Regions from separate parts of the Homo sapiens genome. Here region 2 is linked to region 1. Evidence: promoter capture Hi-C in 16 types of primary human blood cells and fetal thymus (Javierre and others, 2016). All regions are on one chromosome and are shown on one strand. Each heading gives the region's core, a stretch centred on a gene start or on the middle of the fragment in contact. The rest is flanking DNA. Distances are from core to core; before and after follow the strand shown. Region 1 holds the start of THOC1 (THO complex subunit 1). Region 2 has its middle 33 kb from the start of MYL12-AS1.

What was found. Contacts are between HindIII fragments. The CHiCAGO score rates a contact against its expected background, and 5 or more counts as called.
Region 2: a contact is called between a fragment that was not itself captured here and the fragment with the promoter of THOC1 in region 1, in 1 of 17 cell types (total CD4 T cells). The highest score is 6.0, in total CD4 T cells.

Annotation. Positions count from the first base shown.
Region 1 is chr18:266,089-270,427 of GRCh38, forward strand. It overlaps THOC1 (THO complex subunit 1), which reads right to left and starts at 1,959. Exons shown (of 21, transcript NM_005131.3): 1 at 1,878-1,959. The coding sequence starts at 1,931. RefSeq lists an enhancer at 1,828-2,297 and a silencer at 2,688-2,867. The HindIII fragment of the contact is 5,170 bases long and covers 390-4,339 here.
Region 2 is chr18:3,293,053-3,296,973 of GRCh38, forward strand. No RefSeq gene overlaps it. Among named protein-coding and RNA genes, the nearest start is that of MYL12-AS1, 33 kb to the left of the region's middle. RefSeq lists an enhancer at 1,699-1,993. The HindIII fragment of the contact is 1,139 bases long and covers 1,354-2,492 here.

The sequences.
Region 1 (4,339 bases), core at 709-3,208:
TTCAGTCCCTGACACGTAGCACTCAATAAAACCATGCTGACAATCTGTAGATTGTTTTAAAGTAATCATAACTTAAAGACAAAAATATTGCAAAAGGCATTCATTCTATGAACACTCACATACACTTAGAAAGTCATCTTATTACCTCACAGGAATTAGATCTATCCTAAATGTGTCCATTCCTTGCTCTGCCACTAACAGGCTGAGTAATTTGGGGCCTGTTCCTTTATCTCTTTGTGCTTCATTTTCGTCACCAGTTAAATAAGAGGGTTTTTGTAGATTTTTACTACCAGCAGCAGCTACAGTGGCATCACCTAGGAAGCTGGTAGAAATGCAAAATCTCAGGCTCCCTTCCACACTTACTGAACAAGAATCTGCATTTCACAAGAAGCTTGAGAAACACTGAACTAGATGATCTCCAATTTCATGGTCCTTTTCAGGGCTAGTATGATTTTTTTTTTTTTTTTTGAGATGGAGTCTCCCTCTGTTGCCCAGGTGTTGTGCACTGGCATGATCTTGGCTCACTGCAACCTCCGCTGTCCGGGTTCAAGCGATTCTCCTGCCTCAGCCTCCCAAGTAGATGGGATTACAGCGCCCACCACCACGCCTGGCTAATTTTCGTATTTTTAGTAGAGACGGGGCTTTGCCATGTTGGCCAGGCTGGCCTTGAACTCTTGACCTCAGGTGATCCGCCCGCCTCGGCCTCCCGAAGTACTGCATTTACAGGCGTGAGCCACTGCGCCCGGCCGCCAATATGATCTTGGATAGTCCTAACAGTTACTCTTAGCAGGCTTTCAAAGCACCAGAGATTGCAGCAAAACGCACACAAAGAAAATGATTATGATGACATACACAAAATATAATCCATTTAAAAAAAACCTCACACTGTGTGTGTGTGTATATATATATTATACGTATACGTATATATATGTATATATATATATATATAACCCTGCAAACAAGAAAACTACTTACTACAAAGGATGAATTTTTCTTTCACACAATTTTCATCCTGGCATCCCTATAACTACCAAAACACAGCCGAATATCTGAGAAATGTTGGTGCAAATGCTAGAGACGAATAGAGTCAGGCAACTTAAAAGTGTTCTTCATACTTACGTTGCTGTGACGAGCAACATAAAAAGAACAGAGTGTCTAAAGTCAGAAAAACCACTGAAGTCACAACTTTTTGGGGGGTGTCAGCTTCTACCTCATGTACCAGGAATAACCAACTTAGCCTACTTCACAGTGTTACTCTAATAGTTAAATGAGAAAGTGATCTGTCAAGTGTTTCCCAAATGCTCAAAACCACCCTTCCACATTGAGCAAGAATAAAATAGCATCTGGTTACCCTTCCCAAGGTGATCTATCTGCCTTTTCCCGCTTAGGATCTCATCGATCGCTTAGGAGTTAGACACGGTGGGTTAAGGGGTGGTGAAGAGACGGCGGGAACAAGCACTTGGTAGCTCAGAAGGCTAGGGCGGGAGCCAGGTCTTTGGACTGAAACCACTCCCACCCTCCCCCTTCAGCAGCTCCCCTTCCCCTTCTCGAGACACCTGCCCCACTAAACGAGCTGAGAGGATGGACCCAACCAGCAGTAGTCTGCAGGTGGGCACTCCAAGCGGGGAGCCGAGGCGCCCAGCACGCAGTCCGGGGACCCGCTGGAGGGTGGGCGGAGGCGGACGGCCCAGCCCACAAAGAAGAGGCGGGTAGTGCGTCTTTCCCTACCCCTCAACCTCCGACGGGGCCCGGAGCGGACGCTGAGGCGGACACACCTCTGTCTCACTTTACCCCAGGGCAAAATTCGAGTAATTTCAGGGAGAAGAGGACAAAGCATAGCGCCGGGTCAGGCCTGCACCCTCCCCTCTACAGCTCACCGTAAACCGCGTCCGCGCTTCGGGCAAACTGAAGAGCGGCGGCGTCGGAGACATCTTCTCGGCTGCGCGTGCCCGCCACTGCGCTGCGGCGCCTGCCGATGACGTCAAGCCAGGAGCAACGAGACTGCGGTCTCTCTGAGCCCGGCTAGAGTGGCCTGTGAACACCGGTCGGGCGAGCTGGCAGTTGGGAGTTTCCCTAGCGACTCAGTTCGGGTGGGCGTTGGGCGCCTGAGTCAGCCAAACAGCCTACTCGGGGTTCTTGGGTAGCCTTTGGGGTGAGGGGACTTGGGCGGCCTTGGTCTGTAAGCTCTGCGTTCCCGGGCGTGGAAGAGACTGGCCGCGCACATGCGTTTCTGTGGTTTTCCTGGTTTGGGGAAAGCGGGTAAATGGTGGCTGGTTGCGGCTAACTGGGCCGCGCTAAAAGGTAACCCAAGGCAGGTGGATTACCTGGGGAAACAGCTGGAGCAGTGGTCCTGGGCCGCCAGTCCGCGGTCATCCCGGGAGCTTAAGATGCGGAGTGGTGATAGGCTCCGGATGTATGAGCCCTGTGGCTCAAGGGCGCTGTTCTCTCTGCTCCGAAATAGAAATAATACCTGTCTCACAGAGCTGTTGAAAAGCTCCACTGAAATAATGACCGCAAGTGTGAACTGTAAAGCAATGTAAGTAGTATTTATTATTAAAAGGTCTCTACTGAAAGAAAGAGACCTAGGAGGAATGCAGTGCCCGGCGCTGATTGGAAAACGGGTGGCGCTGCGTCCTGGGCCGAGGCTTCCCTAGCGAAAACCTTGTCTCCCTCCATTTCGTCCCTTGCCTGCCTTCCCAGGAGAGACGTGGCCGATAGAAGCCGAGTGGCAGTAACTCTAAGTTGGAGTTACACGGTGGAGAAGGAAGCACTGACTCAGACTCGGGTAACTTCCTCTTATTCCCTCACACGTGTATCTTGTTCCCTTCTTCGAAGTCTGTAAATTTAAAATCCTAAGCCCCCCAACAACTGAACAGACCCCCGTGAGGCCAAGGGGACACCAGCAAAATCTTAACAACTGAGTTCCCAGTCATAACGGGATGGGAGGTCAGACGGACCTGGTTATACCCTCTCCCTTTTGTGATTTAGAGGAGATAGCTGACTGGCCATAAAGTTAAAATAGAGGCCAGGCGCGGTGGCTTACGCCTGTAATCCCAGCACTTTGGGACGCCGAAGCAGGTGGGTCACCTGAGGTCAGGAGTGGATCACCTGAGGTATGGCAAACATGGTGAAACGCTGTCTCTACTAAAAATACAAAAATTAGCCGGGCGTGGTGGCACGCACCTGTAATCCCAGCTACTCAGGAGGCCGAGGCAGGAGAATGGTTTGAACCCGGCAGGCGGAGGTTGCAGTGAGCGGAGATCGTGCCATTGCACTCCAGCCTGGGCGACAAGAGTGAAACTCTGTTTCAAAAAAAAAAACGGAGATGATAGGACTGACGGAATTGACTCCATGGCAATAAGATACCAAAGTATAAACAGGACCTAAGCCCATGCCAAGCAAGGGTTAAAAGTCATGCATCCCTACGCTTGAAAAATAAACTATGTTCTCACTATGCTTCAAGGTTTTTCTTTAGCAGCTAAACAAGCGCTGGCCTCACAGTATTAAAACAATTTGCAGTTCATCGACCACCAGACACTAACAACCCTCTCCCACCAGCCGTAACTACAGCTTTTATTGATTTCAGTTACTTTCTCCTGATAAGAAGGTCACTGACCATGGACTTGTTCTGGCCAATTTGTAGTGATTGCATGCTTACGTAACTTCCTGAAAAGATATTTTGATGTATAGGACCAAACTGTAAATACATTTAAATGTTAAGTCTCCACCCCAAAGTGAACATGGATTGTCTGTTAAACATGCATATTTGTTTAATATGCATGTGTCAAGACCACTTTCATGAATATTCATAGCCGCTCCTCTAACTTGTTGAATATGTATGTTTAGCCAACCAGTTAAGCATAAAGTTCCTACTCCAACTCCTCCTCTGAAGTGTCTGTATGTGGTCTTGGCTGGAGGCATGCTTCCCAGCCTGCAGAATGGCCACCTTGCAGGCTGTAACTCCTTATAAGAAACAAAGTCTCTCCTTTTCTAAATCTATAGATCTTATGATTTTTTAGTTAACATGCACAATAAGAATACAGGAAGCTAAGGAAAAGATAACTGCAGAATCTTACTCCTAAGTGGGAATTGTGAACAATAATGACTACCTGAAATGTTACAGGCTTTTTAAGAATCAGCAAGATCATTCAGGTTTGGTTGTATACATTAAATTTACAAATTGGCAAAATAAAAATGATTTAATTCAGAATTATACTTTGTTTATCTGATACTAATTGTTGTAATAGGATTATCATATTACAGATGACTATTAACCATCTGGAACACAACTAAGACCTCAGAGGCAAGTACATTTTTTTCTTTTCTTAAGAGACAGGGT
Region 2 (3,921 bases), core at 673-3,172, 3.0 Mb after region 1:
GGGAAATGAACTTGATGTAATAATTACTTCCAAGTAGGGTGACCAATTGTCCCCATTTGCACAGAACTGAGGGGGTTTCTAGGATACTGGATTTGCGTGCAAAAGCTACAAATCAGGACAAGTTGTTCATGCTACCTCCAAGTACACTATCAGGCAGGCTGCTCTAGAGTTCATAAAAGAGACAGGGTGAGAGAAAATTGCAAAGACGCTGGAATCACAAGGTTTATTTATGTTTTCTTTTCTTTTTTGAGACAGGGTCTTGCTCTGTCACCCAGGCTGGAGTGCAGTGGTGTCATCATGGCTCATTGCAGCCTCATCCTCCTGGGCTTAAGCAATCCTCCCACCTCAAACTCCCTAGTAGCTAGGACTACAGGCACACACTAGCATGCTCAGCTAATTTTTTGTTTTTATTTTTGTTTTAGAGACAAGGTCTCGCTATGTTGCCCAGGCTGGTCTTGAACTCCTGGGCTCAAGCAGTCCTCCCACCTCAGCCTTCCAAAGTGCTAGAATTACAAGTTTGAGCCACCATGTCCAGCCTATGTGTAAATTTTAAACACAAAGCAAGAAGCAAGTGGAAACTGAGATAAGTTATCACACTAAGGATAGGATCCAAGTTGGATGTAAGAGCCATACAAAAAAAATCCTGAGTCACACAATGTTCATATCCTATCTCTCTCACCTACAAAGACACATCAGAATTTCCTACTGATGGCATGGTCTGATGCAGTGACCAGAGTCAAGGGTGAGCAAGGAGACTCAGCAAATTGAAGGTGCCTGAAGCCAACACATGCTTCCTCTTTCAAAGAGATGGAGGACAAGGAGCCTGTGCACAACTGAAATTCACCAATGAAGTGCTGAGGAGCTGTGGATTTATCTGCATATCTTGGACAGAGGTCACCTGGGGCAAGAATAGCTGTCACGATTCAGCAGCTGATTTAAATATGACATAGCTGTCATTCAGGAGGATACATGATCTGTGATTTTACTAATATTTTAGGTTTACTTGGTCCTTCTATCCTTTCCTATCTACAAGTAGCACACTTGGTATTTCCATTCTTTTAATCTATGCTTACCAAACATATGTTCTGTATATGCTATTTATGTTTAACCTAAAAGATTTCTAACTTAGTACATTTGCTATCATTCCTCAACATGTTTTATGAGTGTCACCTATTGTTCTACTTGTTTGTTTCTCTTGTTAATTTCAGAAGAATTGAATATTCTCAAATACTACAGAAAAATCACATTATAGAAGTAACGATAGCATAAATAGACTTTTTGTACTCAACACTTGGCTGTAATGGAAAAGAGAAAAAAAAGTTATTTGCTATAGGGATTTACAGAATCATGGGAAGCTTAAAAAAAAAGAAGCTGAAGATAAAGAACAGCCAGAGACAGAAGTTAATTGATGAAGCATGATTACTGAGAGAGAATAAAAGGTGGAGGGAGAATTGGTAGGAGATCGTATTCTCTTACAGGAGAAGAGGGAAGGAATAATGGGTGGCAATGCAAATATGTATCCAGTGGTGGGTGGGATTCACCAGGTGTGTTTCAGTTTACTTTGTGAAATAATTTGGCTCTTAAATAAGTACTTCCAGGCACTGGTTGATTGATTTACAAATGTTTACTTTTTATTAAGTGTGGTGTGGTGGCCTTGTAATGTATTGACTTGGCTAAGCTGAACTACGTTTTCCACAATTTTGTTTCTTGTATGTTTCTGGTTATGGTGGGCCATGAGGGAGATTCTTGTGAGATTCAGAAAGCAGATGGGAAGCTGCAGTCATTTTGTAGCTCACACACATTGTTGCTGATCTGCTGACTCACCTCATCAGCATGAAGCGGCAGCTGGGCCTGCTCTACCTTCCACTGGGTTTTCCCTCAGCTTCCCTGACTCCTGGGCCTGGTGTGTGTGTGTTTAGTTCCATGAGGTTGGGTCCCCACTATCAACACCAGAAGGAATATGAACTGACATGAGTTTCAATTTGTCCTGCTGGGTTCTAGTTCATGCTGTGGGTTCCAGTCTTTTCTTGATCTTCCTCACTTTATATCCATTGTCGCTTTCCAACTCTCTGCCCTCTGGACTTCAAGCTCCAGTACCAGATGAAAGGACTACAGTCTTACAGAGACTCTTTAACCAGTTCCAACGTTTGTGGAAGGCTGTATTTCTATGAAATAATATCCTCAGATCATGCCTGACTTTATGTTAATGATATCACTCAGGATAGGGGCTGGACATGCCACAAAAGCCATCCATGTGACTGGAGGGTTGGGGCTTTGAGCAATGTGGATATCAGCCTGACTTCTGACCTCTGACCCCCAGGAAGGAGCAGGGGGCTGGAGACTGAATTCGATCACACTGCCAATGATTCAACCAATCATGCCTACAAAATAAAACCCAAATAAAAACTCTGGACATGAAAGCTAGGGGAAACTTCCAGGTTGATAATCATACATCAGTGTGCCAGGAGGATGACAGGTCCTGAGCATAAAGAAGCTTTGAATTTGGGACCCTCCCAGACTTTGCTCCCTGCACCTTTTCATTTGGATGTCCCTGGTTTGTGTCTTTTATAATGAAACACTAAGCCTAAGTATAGTGCGTGCCTGCATTCTGTGAGTTGTTCTGGTCCATTATTAAACCTGAGGAGTTAGTGGGAATCCCTGCATTTGTGGTCAGTTGGTCAGAAGCACCGGTGGCTCAGGAACCCTGGAACATATAACAGCTGGTATCTGGGGTAAGAGGCATCCTGTGAGTGGCTGTTCCCTTAACCTGTGAAATTTGACCTTACTCCAGGTCAGGATTGTATTGCAAAGAGAAAATAATGTATGGATCCCCTTGTAGGCATCACCTAGCTTCAATAATAATCAGCTCATGGCCAAACTTGTTTCATCTATAACCCCTCCCATTTTCCTTTCATCATTATCCCTCAGCCCTCTTACCTGCATCACTAGATTACTTTGAAGTAAATCACTGACAAATCATTTTGTCAGCAAATCACTGATATTTGTTCATACATATTAAAGCAGATATCTCTAAAACAAAAGACCGCTTCCCCTCCCACTTTTTTTTTTTTTTTTTTTTTTGAGACAGAGTCTCACCCTGTCACCCAGGCTGGAGTGCAATGGCGCTATCTCTGCTCACTGCAACCTCCACCTCCCAGGTTCAAGCGATTCTCCTGCCTCAGCCTCCTGAGTAGCTGGGATCACAGGCGGGCGTCACCACGCCCGGCTAATTTTTTATATCTTTAGTAGAGATGGGGTTTCACCATGTTGGCCAGGCTGGCCTCGAACTCCTGACCTCATAATCTGCCTGCCTTGGCCTCCCAAATGCTGGGATTACAGGCGTGAGCCACCGCGCCCGGCCTCCCCACCTTTTTTTTAAGAGACAAGTTCTCACTCTGTTGCTCCCAAGATGGCAGATTGGAGGCAGTGTTAGCATGCCTCTTCCACTTGGAAAGACAAGATAGTGTGTAGAGACTCACACACTGTGAACTTTTCTCCTAGAAGCAACACAGGAACTTAACAGGAGAACTGAAAGAAGCCACTGACCCTTTGAAAGAAGCACTGGGCTGCAGCCTACACCATAAGCCAGTGGAAAACTAAGTTCCCCAGAGTGAAAGAGGAATAAATTGCCTCTGGAACATACACTCCCACTTGGGAATCTGGCAATAGAGGCCCATGAGGGAAGAACTTAACCCTATCCAGCAATGGAGCTGATTTTAGTGAGCAGTGGGGAATGTATGAGAAAAAGCATCATTGGGACGGGCTTTGCATGCACTCCCAGGCTCCAGTGAGGATGGAGGGAAGACATTCCCGACCCTACCTCACAGAGGACTGTGCAGAAATCTGCCAGCTAACTCAGACAGCAGTCACAGGTTGGCAGAAGTTCCCAACTGGGTTCACAATATAATGCCGAATGGGGAC